7 separate regions of the Homo sapiens genome follow, and all the other regions are linked to region 7. The links are contacts of gene promoters, found by promoter capture Hi-C in blood cells and fetal thymus (Javierre and others, 2016). All regions are on one chromosome and are shown on one strand. The core of a region is centred on a gene start or on the middle of the fragment in contact, and the rest is flanking DNA. Distances in the headings are between cores, read along the strand shown.

Region 1 (2,834 bases), core at 185-2,684, 3.8 Mb after region 7:
TTATTAATATCTCCATCTCACTTACATTACAAATTCCTTCAAGTTTGGGATTTTTTTTCCTCATCATTGTTAAATGTTAACAAAGATGTTAACAAAACGTTAACAAAATGTGTTAAAGCACGTTTTTGTTCCTTGTTCAGTGCTTTACACATTTATTATTCAACACATGTATTAAACTAAGATATTTACAGAAAGAATTTCTAACAATTTTGAACAATATCTGGCTTTATGTTGCTGTTTTATATATCTAATATTGGGACTTTTTCCTGTTAAGTAAAGAACAAAAACCAAGTTCATAATGTCAAGATAGTTCAAAGATGGTAACATTGGTAAATATAATAGGAAGTTTTAAAAAAAACTTTAATAGAATTTTCATTGTGTTTTCTCGTAGTGTCTATGTTTTACTACTGTAATAGGCTTTCTCTGATACTCTTTTTCTTTTTACTCTGTAAGCAAGTAAATCTTGCTTAGCATTTACTTTTGATGCTGTTCACTTGACATTGGTCTGAGAGGTTTCTAGTCCAAGAGACAGAAGCATTTATGCTGAAAAATAGATAATTATACTTTTGTTAGTAGCAAGTACATAAGTAACAAACATGACAAAGCCCTGGAGAGGGATAATACTTACCCCTATGTAAACCTACCCATCAGCAGGAGTGGTACGCAGCAGTTCCTTTTCAGTTCCTTAAGAGCTCTTCAGTGGAATGCTAATTAGGGATTCAGTACCATAAAGCTTGGAAAGATCTATTAACTAGAGAGAAGAAAATGTTGAAACAATGAATCCCTTTTAAGATAGTTACCATTAAATGATTTAGAGAGTTTCTGCAAGTAGGTGAGAGTAACAGTATTTTTCCAGCTGCTTAATTTTTCTTTTCCCCCCTGAGATGGAATTTTGCTGTTGTTGCCCAGGCTGGAGGGCAATGGCGTGATCTCGGTTCACTGCAACCTCCGCCTCCCCGGGTTCAAGCAATTCTCCAGCCTCAGCCTCCTGAGTAGCTGGGATTACAGGCACCTGCCACCATGCCCAGCTAATTTTTGTATTTTTAGGTAGAGACGGGGTTTCACCATGTTGGCCAGGCTGGTCTTGAATTCCTCACCTCAGGTGATCCACCTGCCTCGGGCTCCCAAAGTGCTGGGATTATAGGCATGAGCCACTGCGCCTGGCCCAGCTGCTTGAATTTTATGGGGAAACCCAGGAGACTAAAATCACCTCAATTGTCTTTGTGGGCAGGGGAGTACGGGGAAGGTGTACTTTACCATAGTTCTAGAAAAATCAAGAGGAATTGCTGAAGTTTCTTTCAGAGCCAATGAAGACCTACCAAGCATTCTAAAGGGCGATTCTTTGCGAAGACAAAATTCAAGATAAGAATTATACTTAAATAAAGATTAGAAATACCTGTACATTGTGGTCCAGGAGACTGGAAGACTGTAAATTCCAACATTTAGAATGTCATTGATCTCTTGATCTTCAATGTTCAGGGACAGTAAGAGTTGATAATTCTTTTTTCTTTTTCTTTTCTTTTTTTTTTTTTTGCAACAGTGTCTTGCTTTGTTGTCCAGGATGGGAGTGCAGTGGCAGGATCATGGCTCACTGCAGCCTTCAACTCCCAGGCTCAGGCAATCCTCCCACCTCAGACTCCCAAGTAGCTGAGACTAACTACAGGTGCACACCACTATGCCTAGTTAATTTTTAAATTTTTGGTAAAGACGGAGGTCCACCTATGTTGCCTAGTACTGGTCTCAAACTCCTGGGCTCAAGCCATCCACCCACCTCAGCTTTCCAAAGTGCTGGGATTACGGGCATGAGCCACTTCGCCCAGCTGAAGTCATAAATCTTTGTTGTACTTATTTAAACTGATGTGACAGAAGAGGCCTGAACTGTTCACTTCAGTGTAATGAATAATACTTCAGTGTAATGAATAATACTTCTTTGCTTAACCTACCTTGGATAAGTGAAGTACTAAAACAAAACCAAAGTGAAGCATTAATGAATTACATCTGCAAAGGAAGTATTAATTAATTACACCTTCAAAGGAAGAGTACTCTAAATCCAAGGTAGTGTTAACATTTTTCATTATTAGTCCAGACTATCCTGTCTACTTGTGACTAAAATCATATTTGCTCAATAAGCTTCCAGGCCTACCCACTAGACTTTGAAGGGGAGTGGGCAGTACTGTACTTACATCTGCCTCTGCCCTACCCTTAATTCTGACATCGGAAAGGACATCACAAGTAGCTCCCTGAAATCACTGTAGACAGGGTGAAAAGGAAATTCACCAGGAGGTTATTCCAAAGACACTTTAGTTTTCAGCATGTCAATAGATTGTTGAAGGGAAATGGTGCCAACAGACCCTGCTAGCAAAAAGAAATATAAAATGTGTTCTATTTTAAGAAAAAAATCAGACTCATAAAAGACAAGTCATCATACATTCTACATAGTTGTAATGGGACATACTTAGACCAAAAAAATTATTCGACATTTCTCTGAAATTCAAATTAAATTGGGCATCTAATGTTTTTATTTGCTAAACCTGTCAACTCTATCTATATTCATTCTAAGAAAGGACTATATTTTCCTTACCACAAAGAAGCATAAAATACATTGTTCCTGGTGTTAATAGAAATGGTTATGTCAAATGCTTTCTACCAATCCAAATTTATTCTATATTTATAATAGGGCAGCAACAATCCATGATAGAATTATGTTGCTATCTATGAAGTTAAGAGAAGGTAATTTTTTGAATTTTAGTAAAAAACTACTTATACAGTGTACATATCTTACCTATGAACTTCCATTATTGCTAAAGCTAATATGAGCTCAGTTAAATACCCAC
Region 2 (2,805 bases), core at 262-2,761, 3.6 Mb after region 7:
AACCACTTGAACCCAGGAGGCGGAGGTTTCAGTGAGCGGAGATCGCGCCACTGCACTCCAGCCTGGGCGACAGAGAAAAAAAAAAAAAAAAGAATTGAATGAACTGAGAAAACAAATTCAAGGACAAACACCTAAAAATAGAAGCAGACGTGTGATTTTTGTGTGATTTCTAATATTATCTCCCTATTCTGATACGTGCTTTTTCATAAAAGCATAGCACTTCAAAACTCAAAAGGAATCTACAGCTACATGGGAACACTGAAATGGCGCTAAAATCTAAAGTGCATCTGAATCAGCAGCAATAGAATCTGCCTCTGCCTGGTATTTCACATTTCTTCTCTTGCAACCAGAATGCTTCCATGCAACTCTTATTTAGAACATTTCATCTGAGGCTTGTGACAGTATTCCACAAGAAGAATTAACACAACTTAATGCAGAAAACTATGAAAGAGACCGGAATTAACACAACTTAATGCAGAAAACTATAAAAGAGACTGGTAAGGAGACTTTAAAATCTGTAGTTTCTAGATGAAGCCCATTCAAACAGTTAAGGAGTCACAGATAGGCACAGGTCATAGTACACTGGATAGTAAAACAACTAATGATATTTGATCATTAAATTCTCTGACACTCCCTCTATTCAATCAAAAATATCTGCTTACCAAGTAAACTTGCCACAATGGAGACTAGCCCTGTTCCAGCTCCAATTTCAATCACGTTTTTGTCAACCATATTATACTGCTTTGCATTTGTTTCCAGGAAATAGCATAGAACAAGGGCCTATGAAAGTTAGAAAAAAAAAAAAAAGGGACGCTTGGCAAGTAATAACAGAAAGTAAAATTAAACTTTATTGGACAAATATGCTGCTAATGTTATGCTATGTATGCGTGCTCATATGAGTACATGAGAGTACTCATGTGTGTACTTGTACATCACTCCAAAAAATATGAACAAAAGTGCATCCTCTGAGAGGTTCAACATTTCTGCTAGAAAAATTCCTTGGGGATTATTGAGAGGAAAAGAGAAATAACTAAAAATGTGGAGTTCAATTGCTTAGGTTTGATCATTTTTAAAGGAAGCAACTTCTGATAATACTAGTCATTTCCAAGTGGTGTGTGGGATTGGGGCAGGTGGGGTGGTGGGTCCATTACTCTTCATGGGACAGTTGGTAAAGGATTGAGGGTCTTTGAGGACATTCTACATGTGAGACTCATATAGATTTCAATGTAATTGTTTAACTCAAATGGAGCTGATAAAAGGGGAAATAAAAATGTTTACTGCTCTAAACTCTTATTTTAAAAACTGAAGAAGTAAACAACACCCTGTATTAATCCTACAAATTTCAATAAAGTCAGAAATAGAATTAATTGAGGCCCAGCGTGGTAGCTTATGCCTGTAATCCCAGCACCTTGGGAGGTGGAGGTGGATGGATTACTTGAGGCAAGGAGTTCAAAACCAGCCTGGCCAACGTGGTTGAAACCCCATTCCCACCAAAATTACAAAAATTAGCTTGGTGTGGTGTTGCATGCCTGTAGTCCCAGCTACTCAGGAGGCTGCAGCAGGGGAATCATTTAAACCCAGGAGGCAGAGGTTGCAGTGAGCTGAGATCAAGCCACAGCACTCCAGCCCGGGTGACAGAGCAAGACTCTGTCTCAAAAAAAAAGAAAAGAAAAGAAATAGAATTACAGAATTAATTGGGAGAAATAATTTCCTAGTCACATGATTTCTAAAACATAGTACTATTTGAGGTCACAAAGAAGGAATATGGAACCTGTTTTCTTCTTCCAAATAGAACATAATAATGAATAAAACCGGCTGGAAAAATAATTGGAATGTAACAAATTCTGTATGAAATTATACCGATGGCCAAACAACAGCACCATAACAATCCATGGCCTCAGTAATTCGAATCTCATGACCAATAAAATGAAAACTTTCCCAGGAAGTAGTTGTTATCAGAGTTGGAATAAAACATCTTGCCATGATCTCTGTGACCACCTGCTTGTCATCATAGGCTTCTCTGGTGTCTGAAAGGAAAAGAAAAAGGTAATGGTTGTATAAGTAAATCCATGAAAAGAGAAAAGAACTTGATGGAAATACAGCATTTCTGCTTAGTCTAAGGAGCTTTTGAATATTCAGTGACTTTAGGTGAGAAATAATAAGGTAAACTATTTGAAAATGACTCTCAATGTAAGCTAATATTTCCATTCATCAGGGTGGCAACATCTTTCTTATTTTCATGGGAGTTCAAATCACCATTATCCCCTTCTGCAATGCTACACACAACAAATAATAATTGATGTACTTTTTTAAAGCAATATATTTTAAGAGCCACCAATCAGTTCATATAGAATAAGAGAGAGATTGGTGATGGAATATAAGAACCCACCTCTTCATATTGGTGTCCTAGCGCAATTCTAGCTGTTCTGTGTCCCAGGCACAGTGCTGGGTGATGGAGTATAGTAGCTAGCCAAATAGACATGGTCCCTGCCCTTGGAAAAATTGGAAATCCATAGACACAAACATGTGGTATCTCAGGGCATACCTATAAAGAATTGTTGGATTGGAAGAAAGTGCTTTTCCACAGTACTCCCAAGGCTCTTGGCTTTGGTGCCCACCTGGATAGACATTTCTAATAAATGGTGTGTTCTCAGCTTTGCCTTGATGAACAGTTTTGTCAATGGTTCGACTAACTGATGACATTACAAGTATTATAAAATTTTCAGAATATATAAATGGGATGGGGACAACAAGTATAACAGAAAACTAAATGTGAAGGAAAATGTCTTCAGTTGTAAAAATGGA
Region 3 (3,175 bases), core at 41-2,540, 3.8 Mb after region 7:
ATTACAAAGTTTTCCAGAGCCTATATACCTTCCAAGCTATATGTCTATATTTAAGTATGCATTCATCTAAACACATAAGTGATTAACTTCTTTTAATCTGTAACTAAGGTCTGAGTCTTGAAGACCTTTCTCTGGAGCCTCAGTAAATGTACTTAATCTAAATGAGTCCAGGTGCTGGGGTGATTACCCTTATCTTGTCTCCTACTAAATCACGAAGGTTTAGGGATTTCCTTCAGACTCCCAATAAATTAGTTTATGGAGGCCTTGGGAGTTTCTTCAGGCCCCCAGTAAAACTTGTTTTATCATGCTTTAAGGTTCAGGAAAGGCCTAGGCAAAACTCTTGTTGGGCTGTTGTTACATTCCAGCCTTTGTATAAGGACGCTGGCTTTTAACATTTAATTTAACCACTCAGTCAGTACTGAAACTGTTGTATGGAGGCCTGCGTTAGTGAGACCTGGCCTGCCACAAGATGAGATTTGGGTAGGGACACAGCCAGACCATATCACCATCCTTTCATCAGCCTCCTGAACCTTGTCGTAGGCCTATCTGTGCACTGCCTTATAAAATTCAATTTTAGCAAGAACCCTGCTAAGTCAGTTTCACAAAAATCCCCCACCCTCCATATGTGACCACACTTTATATCTAATCTGCTTCCTCATCCTCTACCATCCCCCAGGTCATGTCTGATCGTGCTGGCCTGTTTTCAGCTAGAATCCCATTTGGTCTATTTAACCAGAATCTCTGTCACCCTGATGCATTTCCTCTTAGTAATTTTCCATCCACTGACTCCCTACCCTGCTCCTTGGCTATAAATGCCCATTTAACCATGCTGTATTCAGAATTGAGTCCAATCCTATACTGAAGTGTCTTTTCCCCTGTTGCAATAGTCCTGAATAACATCTGTTTTTTTACCACTTTAACTATCGTCCAGCTCTGGTTTTTCTTCGACATTTCCACTCGGGTTCAGAAATAGAACATTGCTTAGAGGTGACCACAGTGCCTCCTCTTATCACATTTCCTCTCTGCTCCCAGGTAACCACAAACATGATGGCTGTGATAATCTTTTTCTTGCTTTTTAGTTTTACCACCTACATACACTTCCCTAAGCAGTAGAGTTTACTCTTGCCTATTTTGAAATTGATATAAATGGAATCATATCAAATTTTTGTTGTTGTTACTTGCCTATTTTTTTTTTAGACAGAGTCACACTCTGTCACTCAGGCTGGAGTGCAATGGCACAATCTTGGCTCACTTCAACCTCCACCTCCCAGGTTCAAGCGATTCTCCTGCCTCAGTTTCCTGAGTAGCTGGGATTATAGGTGCCTGCCTTGCCCGGCTAATGTTTTGTATTTTTAGTAGAGACAGGGTTTCAGCATGTTGCCCAAGGTTGTCTCAAACTCCTGAACTCAAGTGCTATGCCAGCCTCGGCCTCCCAAAGTGCTAGGATTACAGGCATGAGCCACCACACCCAGCCTTATTCATTTTTTATATGTGGACAGTACTTCACCATATAAATATGATCACTTTATTTTACCGTCCATTGCAGATGGACATTTGGATTCCTCTCATTTGGGGGGAATGTCAATCAGTGCTACAGCAAACATTCTTATTCATGTTTCTTGGCCACATTTGATTAGAAGTGGAATTACTGGGTTATAAGGAATGTACACCTGTTATTTCACTCGATAATGTTAAATGATTCCAAATTGGTTGTCCCAGTTTATGCTCTTTCCAGGGCTGTACAGAATTTGCAGTTGTTTTACTTTCTTGCTAACAGTTGATATTATCAGACTTACAAATTTTTTGCCAATCTGATTAGTACACAATGGTAACACATTATGTTTTAATTTTCATTTCTCTGATTATTAATGAGGTTGACCATTTTGTGGTTATGAGCCATTTGTGTTGCCTTTCCTGTAAAATTTTTAATCTTTTTAAATTTTTACTTATTTTCCTACTAAGTTGTTCAACTTCCTGCTGGATTCATAGACATATATTTTGGAGTTAGTACTTTGTGGTATATGCTGCATACATCCTACTTTATGGTATATCTTAGACTCTCATTTCATTGTCTTTTAATGCTCAAAAGATTATGTTTTTTGTTTTTTGGGTGTTTTTTTTTGTAGAGACAGGGTCTCACTAGCTGGTTATTTAATGTAGCTAAGAAAACTATAGATTTTTATATATGTTCTGTACCCAACCCCTTAACGAACGATTTTATTAGCTCTAATACATTTCACTTGTTTTTTCTCAAACACAGTCATATTTGAAACTGACAGTGTATCTTCTTTACCATATTTATAATCTTATTTATTTTCTGTCCTTATTGCATTGGCTGGAACTTCTAGCATAATGTTGAATGATTGTGGTGACAACAAGCATTCTTATTGTCTTTCAGACTTCAGTGGTATATCATTAGTCAGGATTCTCCAGATAAATATGACCAATAGAAGGGTGTGAGTGTGTGTGTGTGTGTGTGTGTGTGTTCATAAGGATTTATTTTAAGAAATTGGTTCACACAATTATAGAGGCTAGCAAGTCCAAAATCTGCAGTTAAAGTCCAAAGACCATTAGGCTGGAGACCCAGGAGAGATTAGTATTGCAGTTCAAGCCTGAAGGCGGTCTGCTGACAGAATTCCCTCTTGCTCAAGGGAGGCTAGTCTTTTGTTCTACTTACTCCTTCAGTTAACTGGATGAGGCCCCCCCCCTGCCACGTTACAGAGGGCAATCTGCTTTACTCACAGTTCACTGATTTAAATGGTAATCTTATCCCAAAACACCCTCATCAAAACATGCAGAATAATGTGTGACCACTTATCTAGGCACCCTGGATCAGCCAACTTGACACATAAAGTTAGCATTACAAATGGGAATTCGTTCAACAACTGTTGAGCACCTAATATGTGCCAGACATTGTACTGTGCTCTAAGGATACAGAAGTGAACAACTGCTGTCTATTCTGAAAAAGAATGAAATTAACAAGTAAAAACTAAACAAGATAATTATGGATTGTCATAAATAAAAATAGGGTATTATAGAGAAAAGTGGGGTAGATAGTGGTGGCTACTTTAGATTGGATCATCAAAGATGCTACAGATTTTTCAATGTCGAGTAAAATGTTTGGTATAGTTTATGATAAACAACCACTATTAAAACAATACATTTCCAATCTAAT
Region 4 (2,886 bases), core at 288-2,787, 3.7 Mb after region 7:
ATGGTCTGGTGGGGGACACGTGTAAGTAAGCAATTAGAGTGGGATCTAATAACTTCCACCACAAGGGAAGGGCAGGTCACTAGAGATGCAATAGGGAGTCACCTCACCCAATTTAGGAGTCACAAAAGCTTTCCAGGATCTCCTGCAATTACACTGGTTGGAGTTAGCCACGAATTAATGAGTGTAGTTGTAGGGAGCGGGAAGGTTCATGGAGAAGAGTGTTCCAGGCAAAAGAACTAAGTTGTATGACCATATAGAAACAAGGAAAAGAAAGCCTGCCTGTGGATGATGTGAAGAAAGGCAGGGATAAGACTGGAAAGTGTAATTAAGGAGTTAAAGTTTTATCCTAAAGAAATGAGAAGCTAAGCTGCGTGTGGTGGCTCACGCCTGCAATCCCAGCACTTTGGGAGGCCGAGGCAGGTGGATCACTTGAGGTCAGGAGTTCGAGACCAGCCTGGACAACATGGTGAAACCTCGTCTCTACTAAAAATACAAAAAATTAGCCAGGTGTGGTGGCACGTGCCTGTAATCCCAGCTACTCCGGAGGCTGAGGCAGGAGAATCGCTTAAACCCAGGAGGCAGGGGTTGCAGTGAGCTGAGATTGTGCCACTGCACTCCAGTCTGGGCAACAGAGACTCCATCTCAAAAAAAAAAGAAAGAAAAAAATGAGAAGGAGAAGCTAGAAAGTGTTTTAAGTAAGGAAATGACAATATCAGATTTGGATTTTAAACAGACTATAACACAAAACAGAGATTGGGCTTGGTGGGAGGAACTATTACAAAAAGGGTATGATCAAAGACAAAGACAGAAAGAAGTTTAAAAGCTAATAATGTAACCTGGAGAAAAAATGACAGTGGTAGCAATGGAGACAAATAGAACTGAGCTGATACAAAAGCTAAGTTGTCTCTTGGGAACTCCTGGGAAAGGAAGAGGTGGAGGGAAGGACAGGGGACAAAGGCAAACTGCCAAGCTTCCGGTTCTCCACCTTCACTTCAAACACAGAAACCACCAACCATTAAGAGAGAGACAGAGGAAGAGGAGTCCACAGAGAGGCTGAGCAGAAAGCGCCAGAGAGATGCCGGGGGAGCGGGGCAGTGTGGCATGGTGTTTAGTGCAGAGAAGTCGAGCACACTAAGACGTGCAAAGCGTCTGCTAGATTTAGCAACAAGAATGTCATGGGTTGTGGTATTTTAGCATCATGGTGAGAGAGACCATACTGGATTGAAAAGCAGCTAGAGACAGCATGTGTAAGCAAAGTGTAAGCAAAACTAAAATTCATGCCTTGGAGAATTTAGAATCCACAGCCCTGGCAGAAGTTCTTTAGAATGAAGAGGAATAAGAATCATGAATCACCAAAACACAAAGAATAGTAAATAAAAAATTTAGTCTTTGAAAAATATTCTGAAAGGTATAGAGCATGCCTATTTCAGATGCATTAAGAAATGTTCACATGCCTTATCATGTAGATAACACATCAAGGTTTAAATGTGTCTGAATGTAGCAATGACTAAAATAATATTCTTAAATAGTTAAACATTTACCTGTGTTTTTCTTCCTCTTGTAAAGGAGGCAAAACATAGAGGTCGTTTTCTCTTCGAACTTGGGTAAGACTGGGTAGTGCTTCATCTCTGGAAAGTACACAAATCTTTAAACAGATTATGCAGACCCTGCTCAGGATGGTGAACAGGGACCTGACCTGGCTGCTCTCAGGCCACTGCTGTGGAAAATAAATGCAGCCGAGAGAAAGGAAGGAACCTTGGCGGGGCTGCTCACCTAGAGTCAAGAAGACCATAATCAAAGTAAAAAGTGTACATGACGCAACACGACAGCTTTTTTTTCTCATTAGCAAAGTTGATTCTCACAGAACGGAGAATTGCCACAACTCCAAATTACCAGGTCAAAATGGCAGCCTACTTGTCTCATTTCACTCTCTATTTTCTGTTGAGAGTCAAAATTAGATAGGGAAAGAGAATCGCAGGAAATCAAGACAAAAATCACTTTTTTAAAACTTCATCTCTAACACGACTATAATTTTCCTCTTGCCTTTTGCTTCTGAAGGCAGTTTTGATGGCTTGTCTTTTCAAAAATGTTTTCAGAAGCTTCTCTGTCGTTTTCCTGGAGTCACTGGACGCTAAGTCCTTTCTCTGCCTTCTCTTCACCTATGAGAAGAAAGGATGTAAGATCTCACTTCAGGATATTAGACCACTAGAAACATTGCTGTGATTTATTTTCCAGAGAATTTGGTTTGTCTGAGTTTTCAGACTATGGCTGCTTTAGCATTTCCTCCTAATTGCCATATCAGTGTATATCTTCAGGTTGCTGCTACGTAAAGGACACCCAGAGTTTCCATCTATTACTTAATGGGCTACTACACAATATATTTGGGAAACTTAATTTACTTTCAGTTTCTTTTAAATGTCTTTTAATATGCCCAAGAAGTGGAAAGCTTAAATGCTTCCCAAAAGAAATTATTTATTTATTCTATAAAATGTCACAGTGACACCAAAAACAATTTCTAATATTGCTTTTTATAAACATGCATTACTTACATGTAATTCTGCCCTTCAATATTCAAGATTATATATCATGAGAAATTCTAAAATGTATAGAAATATCTTGTAAGAAATGTTCAAGTAGTGACAAATGGATAGTCCCTGTGCTTATGGCTGAATATCGGATAAAAATAACCAAGATATTCTCTTTTCCTTTCTAATCCTTCCACAAAGTACCTGATTTACAGTATGCCTTGGGTAACTGAAAACTGCAACATTCAAGACTAGACACTCTTACTGAGGCAACAAAGGTCCCCCAGCATTTATAAATGCTTTTTATTTTTATCCTATATCCTTACTTTTATCCTATATCCTCATTTAGAGAGTATCTGGT
Region 5 (2,951 bases), core at 167-2,666, 3.7 Mb after region 7:
AAAAATGTTGGCTGAAGAAAATAAAGGGAAATTAATTGTACTAATTTGTAGGTCCCTATGAACTCCCTTCTTTCTTTTTTTACTTCACCGGCCTCAGAATGGTACTTTCCTTCCAGGCATCATCAGAGCACCTCATCCTGCACCTTTTCTAACAGCTGCCTTTACAAAATATAACAATGCCCACCGGAGCCAAAACACCTTCCTCCCCATGCCTCTCTACTACTCACTCCCAACACATACTAGAGAACTTCCCCATCTGCCTAATTCAAACACCAAGATCATTCCTTTTCCTCTCTCTCCTATTCTTCATATAGTTATATGAGTAAGATTGCATCAATAAGATATCATTTCCTGAGAGCCTCTCCCAAAGCCTTGTTTGTACACATGACTCTGCCACAAGGCCACAGTTAATCTGGCCCAAGCTGGGCTAAGACTACGGAACTGAACCCAAGACAGGTCAGTCTCAGTCTAGACTGTTCATCTAAAAACGACACATAAATGGAAAGATGATGATCTTACGAAGAAAGTAATCAGACAAAAGGAAAGCTAAGAACAATATATAGCCCCCAAAAGAGTGAAGCAGACTACCAGCTACTTGGCCCTTGCTGTCATTCCAATACCTGCTACCATCTACCATTCCTTTATGACTCCAGGTTATACCCCTTGCCCTTGGGTTTTAAAGACAGCCGTGTGTCCTTAAAATAATTTTCACTCCTCTATCAAATATAGGTTTCTGTTACTTGCAACCTAAAGAGTGCTAAGTAAAACACCACATTTTGGTCAGCTGGGAAATGCCTTCAAACACAATGGTGTTCTTCTTACCTTCTTTGTTTTTCTATACTGCAGTCCCCTCTCTAAGTGCCGGATATCCAGGTATTCTGGATTTTGAGTGTTTAGATCAGTAACAATATCTGCCCATCTATAGTTAAGAAGAAAGGATAAAGCACAATTTTCTTTAGGTCTAAAGTATCATTGCAATGGAATTTTTCATGAGCAAGTTGCTGCAATATTATCACAGCAATAATTGGCAGTAATTCTCTTATCTCAACATTGTTTCATCTACTAAACTGTAATAACTTCTAGTTTTATGACAATTCTGTTTATCCAACCGTTGCCAAGGTTTTCAGTGTACAATTGGTTACTCTTCCTACAGAATAAATAAATACCAACATGTTAGATGACATCCTGCATGCTAAAGCAGCAATATGCTATATTTCCTTTTCAATTACAGTCAAGTCCACTTTTAAAAGAATGTAAAGTTAATATGTCTCTATTAGGAGACAACACAATTGTGCAGAAAATCCAAGGGAATTACAAAACAACTACTAGAACTAAAAGGATTTGGTAAAGATGGAAGATTCAAGGTCTACATAGGAAAATCAATTGTATTTTTGTATTCAACCAGCAAATAATGAAGAAATGAAATTTTAAAAAAATCAATTTACAATAGCATCAAAAAGTATAACACACTGAGGAAAACCTTTTTATTGCAATATCTTTTTTAAGTTTTACTTCAATTGTTTTTGGGGTACAGCTGGGTTTTGGTTATACCAATAAGTTCTTCGGTGGTGATTTCTGAGATTTTAGTGCACCCATCATCCAAGCAGTGTACACTGAATCCAATATGTAGTCTTTTATCTCTCACCCGCCTCCCAGACTGCCCTCAGGAGTCCCCAAAGTCCATTATATCATTCTTATGCCTTTGCATCCGCATAGCTTAGCTCCCACTTAAAGTGAAAACATATGATATTTGGCTTTCCATTCCTGAGTTACTTCACTTAGAATAACGGCCTCCGGCTCCACCCAAGTTGTTGCAAAAGACATCATTTCATTCCTTTTTATGGCTGAGTAGTATTCCGTGGTAATATACATACCACATTTTCTTTATCCACTCATTGGTTGATGGGCACTTAGGTTGATTCTCCATCTTTGCAACTGCGAATTGTACCACTATAAACGTGTGTGCCTGTGTGTTTTTCATATGACTTATTTTCCTTTGGGCAGATACTCAGTAGTGGGATTGCTGGATCAAATGGTAGATCTACTTTTAGTTCTTTAAGGAATCTCCATACTGTTTGTCATAGTGATTGTACTAATTTACATTCCCACCAGCAGTGTAATAGAACACATAGAGAAAAAATGTTTAATAAAAGACATAAAACTCCATACTGAAAAAATTTTTTTAAAAAGTTGAAATTAAAGCTCTAATTAAGTAAAGATATAGTCCATGTTGTTATGATGTCAATTCTTCCAAAACTAAACTATGAATTCTTTCTTTCTTTATGAGACAGGGTCTCACCTTATCACTTAGGGAGGAGTGCAGTGGTGCAATCTCAGCTCACTGCAGCCTCGACCTCCCAGGCTCAGTTGATCCTCCCCCCTCAGCCTCCCGAGTAGCTGAAACTACACGCACATGCCACCATGCCTGGCTAATTTTTGTCGTTTTAGTAGAGATGGGGTTTCGCCATAGTGCCAAGGCTGGTCTCGAACTCCTGAGCTGAAGTGATCCTCCCACCTAAGCGCTGGGATTACAAGCATGAGCCACCGCGCCCAGCCAAAATTATGAATTCTATAGATTCTATCCTCATCAAAATCTTTACAAACTCTAATTAAAAGGACAAATTCTAAAATTTTTATGGAAAAGCCAAGGTCCTAGAAGAGCCAAAACAATCTTTAAGAAAAAGAAAAATTCAGAGAATTCGTGCTATCTAATTTCAGGATTTAGTATAAACAACAATTGAGAGTGTGGCATCGGTAAAAGGACAGACAGATTAGTAGGACAGGGTCCAGAAACAGCCCACACATACAGTTTTCAGCAGAGGCACCAAAGAAGTTAAATACGGAAAGGAAAATCTTTGTAAACAAATAGTGCTAGAATAACTAGATAAACACTGGGGGAAAAAATCAAAGTTGAGCTCTACCACATACCACACACAAAAGGTAATTAAGGC
Region 6 (3,213 bases), core at 659-3,158, 3.7 Mb after region 7:
TAGAGGAGGTAACTAATGAGTAGTTTTAATTCATTTTCTTCATTTTCTAATTTTGGAAAAATAAACACATTAAGTTTTAGAATGAAAAAGGAGATAAATATTACAACAAAATTTATCTGAAATTAAGAAATCACCAGACACTAAGACAAATAGCTTTCCTTTTTGGTTGGTTTATAATGTTTCCAGTAGATAGTCATCCAAAAAACAAAGAGAAACTCATAGAAATGCTGTCTTAGTTTTGTTCATGTTTTTCAAAATTATCCAAGCCTAATGAAAATGGGTTTAATTTAAATATATTATCACAAAAGCTACATTCTCATTTCTGCTAAGTGGTTTATTTGTATGTATGTTTTGTGGGTTGTTTCTAGTGTGGGCGAAAGCTTGTTTTGTGTGAGTCAGAACATACTCACAGATAAAGCAAGAAGTAGGTACCTAGAGGAACTAAAGGTCATACAAAAGGGCTCCTTCCCACAAAAACCTCTCCTACTGATACACAATAATGACTGAACTTCTACCTTTCAAGATTCGTTTATAGAATTTAAAAATATTAGTACTTATAAAAACTTAAATGATCAGAATTGCTTTGAAGACTTCCTTTCGTTAAAAAATGAAAGTAAATCCCAAGGGGTAATGTATTTAATCAGAAACACCTTAGTGTGAAATCAGTTATTAGACTGGTTTTTTCAAAGAAAAAAATGAATATGAAAGGACTCCAAAGTTCAGCCCTAAGAGTGATCATAGAAAATGAAGCCAAAGTCTAACTTTTCTTTTTCTATTTTCTTCTATTCTCTCATCTAAATTATCCTAATTTCAAAATGTCTGCTCTATGCCCCAAAATAAGAGTTAACTGGTCTTTAACAGCTGTCAACCACAGCCTACCCTTCATCCTGAACTTAGGAGAAGGGTCCACCATGATTACCTGCTGGGCATCGAGTTGCTTTAATACAGGAAACAGAGATTCATCTGTCTTCGTTCTGTTCCAGCCGAAATACCGCTGACAAAATATGCATGCAGTTAAGACTTATAAATATTTTGAAAGATATTTAAACAAGTGACAAATAAAAAGGTCCAAAGAACCCATTCTTGATTCCATTCCCTGTATCTCCTAAGATTTTCCTATTTATAAAGATTAGAGTGCTAAAAGAAAGTACTAACAAAATAAATGACTCCAGCATAATCATCTGGCACTATGTTCTTTTCAATTCTATAAAATAAAACATATTTAGCTCTCACTTTAGGACATCAAAGACTTGTGACTATGAAAAAAGGTTAACTGGAATAAAAACAAGTTTCAGATATCTTGCCTATTTCATTAAGAGAAAAAATCAAACGTAGTTGGATTAATTCTAGTGCAAGTTTTGAAACATCTATCCAAATGATTACTTAAATATACACGGAAAGGACAACCAGTAATAAAAAGGACAAGATTAGTCATCTTTCCTTCTTTCAGAATCAATAATATTTAAGTATGTGGTTATATCTATGAATGCTTATCACTGCTTATTCAAACAAAGACCCTCTTTAAAACTAAGGAGAGGGGCCAGATGCAGTGGCTTGTGCTACTTAGGAGGCTGAGGCAGGAGGATTCCTTGAGCCCAGGAAGTGGTGGCTGCAGTGAGCTATGATTGCACCACTGCACTCCAGGCTGGGTGACAGAGTGATACACTGTTCCTTTAAAACAAACAAACAAACAAAAAACAACAACTGAGGAGAGGGAAGAAAGAGTGAAAAGGAGAGCGGGATATTAAGAAAATGGGATTAACGGGATATAAGAAAAAAATGATCCAAGTTTCTCTTCCATAAGTTTTAAACCAAACACATATTTGACAAGGTGTTTCCTTCTCTTTTAAGAAGCAAAGGATATTCTCTAATTTTGTCGAGATCAGGTTTCCCCCACAGAAAGGATCCCTTCGAGTCATCCACCACGGGTTTGAGGTAGGCCTCGGCAACAGCTGGGTTAGGAAAGCCAGGGGTGAGTTGCAATGTCCGTAATTTTTTTTTCACTTTGGTGTCATGAGGATTAGGTCTTATCTTTGGATTTTTTTGAGCTTCATGCCACCATTCTCTGTAAAATAAAGGAAACAATTACTTACACAGCAATGAGACATTATAGTTCATACACTATGGATGAAGAACTAAACTTAGAACATGTAAACTCAAGTTCTAACTCAAATTGTATGCTATATAGAATATTTTATTAATTTTAGTACTATTAGCCACAATGTATAATGATGGCAAACATTTATGGAAGTCTTCCTCTGTGCTTGGCACTGTGTTAAATATTTCACATGCCCAATCATCACACAAGCCATGCCCTATCGTTACCCTCACCTCACAGAGGAGGGAACTGAACTCAAAAATAAGTAACTGGCTCAAGATTTCACAGCTGGAATTGGTACAGTCTTCCTCTAGAGCCCACACTCATAATTATACCACAGAAGTTACAACTTCTCTGGGTCTCTTTCTCAGCAGTAAAATGGAAGTAATGTATCTGTATTATTTACCTCAAATCAAATACAATAATGGATCGAAGAATATTTAATAAAATGTAAATATGCCAAGAAAATGTTAAATTTGTTTAAAAAATCTGTAAAAACAGATACATGTATCTGTTTTTAAAATTTAACATTTTATATATATATAAATACATATGTATGTAAAACAAATAAATATATACAAAAACAGAGATAATAGAACTCTACTTAAAGTATGATTCCAGTTTTGGAAAAAACACATATATGAGAAAAGTAAACAGATACTTAAAATAAATAACACTAACAACTATTATTTCGCTGTGTGCTAGGCAATATTCTACGTGAGCACACAGCCATTCATTTTCTTCTTTATATTTTATTCATTTTTCAATGTTTTCCATTCTAAGCCTAAATCGGCCGGATAAAGACAGCGACACACTCTTGGACCCTCCTCCCATCACGAAGGGGGTCCCTGTGGCCTCCTCTTGAGCAGGGCGGCCATGGCTGACCAGTGTGACTCAAGCCGTGCCAGGCCTAGGGGAGGCCCTCGCCACTTCCTGTCCCCTGGACCTCCTGCTCTTGGCTCCAACATGCTATGAGGAAGCCAAGCTCACCAAGTGTCCACCCAGGCCCCGAGGCCGAAGCCACCTCATCAGCCCCGCGAGCCATCTTAAGGGGTCCTAGCCCAGCTGAGCTGTCCTAGCCGACATGGAACAGAGACAAGACACCCCCACCAGGC
Region 7 (3,141 bases), core at 237-2,736:
AGAGTAAGTGTATTCAGTACTTTGTATGCCTTAATGTGTTTTCTATCTTAAACTAGTCTTCACAAGCTTTTACCACTCCAACTGAGATGTATACGTTAAGTTAGACTAATGTTTCAAAAACGGATACTTAAAAGCAACGTACCATAAAAATCTTCAGAAATTGTTACAAAGAAGAGTGAAAGAAAACAAGGTGTTTTACCATATGCATTTTTAAATTTAGCGTAGTGGATACTTTGTTTTAAAAATACATAATTTGTAGAATTACTGCCCAGTTTGTGTTTGAAACATAAATCCTGGGGTGGACGGCATTAAATTGAAAAAAAACGTGGGCATACAGTATATTTTAATTTTTCATACTGAATCGTACATTTGCACTGTGCCTTATTTCTACCGTGTTCTTCCTACTGTTGGACATATAAAAAGATTTTCCTTGGAACTGTGACTTGATTAGATGCTGCAGTATGCTGGATCCGGGTCGGTGGACCGCAGAGCGCTCGAGATGCGGAGAAGCAAAGCTGGCCGCTAGTGGGCGCTGTGGCTCCGTGGAAGTCACGGACGAGCGTCAGCACCGGCGCTCGACCGGGAAAGTAGCGAGGAGTTCCTGCCAGCTCTGCTCTGGGGTCTTGCAGACGCCGAGTGAGAAGCACATGCCTTGACTTTTCCATCTCACACCCTCTAAATCTCTGGTCACTTTGGGAAGCGCGCGTGTCTCCTAGAGGCTAGTGAGACGGTCCCCGCGTCGTGCCTGTGCCGGCGACACGCGGGGAAAGCTCCAGGGGCGCCACCTTCCCGGGGGGCCAGGAGGGAAGGGAGACGCCCGCAGAGAAGGCGGGAGGCGACGATGCTCAGGCCCTGATTAGAGCTGCAAATTCCGGCGCCGCGTCGCAGGAATCGTCTTGCAATTCCCGGCCCCACTGACTGAAACTGAGCCGTAGGCGATTGGTACCAAAATCAAGTGAGAAGCCCTCGCCGAGAGGCGTCGGGAGAAGCGCGCAGAAGCCGGGAGCTCTAAGGGTGCGCGCGGAGTGCAAGTCTTGCACGCGGGGCAGCGCCGCATCTGCGGAGAAGGGACGCCGAGCGGAGCCTGCTGCCTTCCGCACTGCTCGAGGGAAAGCCGCGCCCTCTGATTCCGCCGAGGGGGAAGGCGCCCCCGGGCGCGGAGACAGGTGGCCCGCTACTCGGCCGTCGCTGTTTCCACGTCTGCACCGCGCCCAGAAGGCCTCTCGCCGCCCCGGGGGCGCCCTGTGCACGCGCTGAGCGCTTCTCCTGCCCGGCTTCTGCTCCGCTCCCGCCGCCCGCGGGAGCCAGGGGCGGGGCTCACCTGTCAGCCCGAGCCCCGCCTCGCGGCACCCAATGTCGGGAGGGGATGGCGGACGGACGGACCGGCCGTCCAACCAGCGCGCGGCCGCGGAGCCGCGGGCCAATGGGCTTCGCGCGGCGGGGCGGGGCCCCGCGTTTATAGCGCTCTGACAGCGCGGCGGCCGCGCTGACTCTCCTCGGCGGGGACCGCGGCGCCGGCCGGAGCGAGGAGCTGCGCACGCAGCGGGTCCCGGCGCCCTCCCCGCACACAAAGGCCCGCGCGCGTCCGGAGCCCGCGGCGGGGACCGAGCTCCCTCTTTCCTGCCCTGGGGGCCGGGAGCCGCGCGGACTGAGAAGGCTCCTGCGCGCCCGGAGGCGCCCTACTCCGCTCCGTGCTCCGGGACATGGAACCGCGCCGACGCGGCGCCCGCGCGCTCGGGCCGCTGCCCGCTGCACTGGATCTATAGTCACAGGCGGCCCCGCTCGGGGCGCAGCGCCCGCCGCCCGCGCCGGTCGTCTCCGCTCCGGGTCTTTGTGTCCCAGCCCGCACCCGCCCCGCGCCCACCCGCCAGCCGCGGCCGGCCCGGCACCCTGGAGCCGCACGGGAGTCGGCCGTCCGAGCTGCGTCCGGCGCGGCGCCCCGGAACCCCGAGTCCGCCGCGCCGCCGCGCCCCGCGCGTGCGCTCCCGCCCCGCGCCCTGAGGGCCCCGGAGAGCGAGCGCACCTGGCCCGGCGACCGCTGGAGCTGCGCAGCGCGCCTCGGAGCTGCCTGCGGGCGCACGCCGTCTTCCCCGCCAGTCTGCCCCGGAGGATTGGGGGTCCCAGCCTGCGTCCCGTCAGTCCCTTCTTGGCCCGGAGTGCGCGGAGCTGGGAGTGGCTTCGCCATGGCTGTGAGAAGGGACTCCGTGTGGAAGTACTGCTGGGGTGTTTTGATGGTTTTATGCAGAACTGCGATTTCCAAATCGATAGTTTTAGAGCCTATCTATTGGAATTCCTCGAACTCCAAGTAAGTGGCGTCCGCGATCCCCCTATGTCCCCGCCCCGGGGTCCGCCGCGCCGTCCGGGCGGGAGGAGGGGTCAGTCCGCGGGGCCTCGGAGCCTGTTTCTGGAACCTCGGTTCCCCGTCCCCCACCCCCAACCCCCGCCCCATTTCACTAGGTGGAGACTCCTCGCTCGGCTTTCCAACCCGAGCCCCGCTGGAACGGACGGTCTCTCCGCCTTTCCTCCCCCGAACGCTCCCAGGCGCTAAAAGCTACTATCGGCTCGGGTGTCAAGTCCGGGAAGGTGTCCGATGGCGATACCTGACCCTCTCCTGTTTTCGAGGACGAAGGACATGGCCACAATCTAGGCTGGCCGGCACGCGGGGACTGGTGGGCTCTGGAGAGAGGCGGAGATGCTGCATTCGCGGGGAGCGCGGGCGGCGTGGTCCGGGGCCCGCGGGCGGGCGACCGGGGTGGCAGGACGCTGGCAGCGAAGCGCGTTCTGGAGAGGGGAGCCTGGAGTCGCTACGCTGCCCGCAGAGCCCTGGAGCCGGGGCGCCTTGGCACCGCGCCGCCAGCCCGAGGGTGCGCGGGGAGCTCGCCTGCTTCGCAGGAGAACTCGGGCGTCGAGCCCTTTCCTCCGCGCCGGGGAGACGGGCCTTAGGCTTCTCCCTGAGGGCCCGCCGCACCTCGGCCTCCCGCTTCGTTCATAAGCCGGTAGCCCCGGAGTATGCGGTCTCGATGGCCGACCTGATTGTAATGCACTTCCTATAAAAGCTTAGGGCCCTGCCCAGTCGACACTGCTCCTGAAGCCTTCTCCCTCGGGACCCTGGTAGGAATGGGATCCTTAGGATCAGATTTG

What was found. The method cuts DNA at HindIII sites, captures the fragments that hold promoters and counts their contacts. A CHiCAGO score of 5 or more calls a contact.
Region 1: a contact is called between a fragment that was not itself captured here and the fragment with the promoter of EFNB2 in region 7, in 1 of 17 cell types (monocytes). The highest score is 5.2, in monocytes.
Region 2: a fragment that was not itself captured here is called in contact with the fragment with the promoter of EFNB2 in region 7 in 4 of 17 cell types (naive CD8 T cells, M1 macrophages, total CD4 T cells and 1 more); the score reaches 8.5 in naive CD8 T cells.
Region 3: a fragment that was not itself captured here is called in contact with the fragment with the promoter of EFNB2 in region 7 in 1 of 17 cell types (activated CD4 T cells); the score reaches 5.1 in activated CD4 T cells.
Region 4: a fragment that was not itself captured here is called in contact with the fragment with the promoter of EFNB2 in region 7 in 10 of 17 cell types (total B cells, total CD4 T cells, naive CD4 T cells and 7 more); the score reaches 11.4 in total B cells.
Region 5: a fragment that was not itself captured here is called in contact with the fragment with the promoter of EFNB2 in region 7 in 6 of 17 cell types (monocytes, non-activated CD4 T cells, naive B cells and 3 more); the score reaches 9.7 in monocytes.
Region 6: a contact is called between a fragment that was not itself captured here and the fragment with the promoter of EFNB2 in region 7, in 14 of 17 cell types (total CD4 T cells, total B cells, total CD8 T cells and 11 more). The highest score is 29.6, in total CD4 T cells.

What each region holds. Positions count from the first base shown.
Region 1 is chr13:102,759,118-102,761,951 of GRCh38, reverse strand. LOC105370337 (a long non-coding RNA gene) reads right to left here and starts at 2,298. Exons shown (of 3, transcript XR_931685.4): 1 at 1,397-2,298; 2 at 645-751. The HindIII fragment of the contact is 1,397 bases long and covers 736-2,132 here.
Region 2 is chr13:102,890,558-102,893,362 of GRCh38, reverse strand. It overlaps the pseudogene METTL21EP. Among named protein-coding and RNA genes, the nearest start is that of ERCC5, 46 kb to the right of the region's middle. The HindIII fragment of the contact is 9,059 bases long and covers 1-2,805 here.
Region 3 is chr13:102,777,454-102,780,628 of GRCh38, reverse strand. No RefSeq gene overlaps it. Among named protein-coding and RNA genes, the nearest start is that of TEX30, 5.3 kb to the right of the region's middle. The HindIII fragment of the contact is 4,617 bases long and covers 1-3,175 here.
Region 4 is chr13:102,853,030-102,855,915 of GRCh38, reverse strand. It overlaps BIVM-ERCC5 (BIVM-ERCC5 readthrough), which reads right to left. Exons shown (of 23, transcript NM_001204425.2): 11 at 2,044-2,159; 12 at 1,542-1,628. ERCC5 (ERCC excision repair 5, endonuclease) reads right to left here. Exons shown (of 15, transcript NM_000123.4): 3 at 2,044-2,159; 4 at 1,542-1,628. Among named protein-coding and RNA genes, the nearest start is that of ERCC5, 8.4 kb to the right of the region's middle. The HindIII fragment of the contact is 1,129 bases long and covers 973-2,101 here.
Region 5 is chr13:102,836,611-102,839,561 of GRCh38, reverse strand. It overlaps BIVM (basic, immunoglobulin-like variable motif containing), which reads right to left. Exons shown (of 11, transcript NM_017693.4): 10 at 823-919. BIVM-ERCC5 (BIVM-ERCC5 readthrough) reads right to left here. Exons shown (of 23, transcript NM_001204425.2): 8 at 823-919. Among named protein-coding and RNA genes, the nearest start is that of ERCC5, 7.9 kb to the left of the region's middle. The HindIII fragment of the contact is 3,733 bases long and covers 1-2,951 here.
Region 6 is chr13:102,871,050-102,874,262 of GRCh38, reverse strand. It overlaps BIVM-ERCC5 (BIVM-ERCC5 readthrough), which reads right to left. Exons shown (of 23, transcript NM_001204425.2): 21 at 1,865-2,065; 22 at 920-1,004. ERCC5 (ERCC excision repair 5, endonuclease) reads right to left here. Exons shown (of 15, transcript NM_000123.4): 13 at 1,865-2,065; 14 at 920-1,004. Among named protein-coding and RNA genes, the nearest start is that of ERCC5, 27 kb to the right of the region's middle. The HindIII fragment of the contact is 3,052 bases long and covers 383-3,213 here.
Region 7 is chr13:106,534,007-106,537,147 of GRCh38, reverse strand. It overlaps EFNB2 (ephrin B2), which reads left to right and starts at 1,486. Exons shown (of 5, transcript NM_004093.4): 1 at 1,486-2,305. The coding sequence starts at 2,184. RefSeq lists an enhancer at 389-458 and a silencer at 1,039-1,698. The HindIII fragment of the contact is 2,990 bases long and covers 69-3,058 here.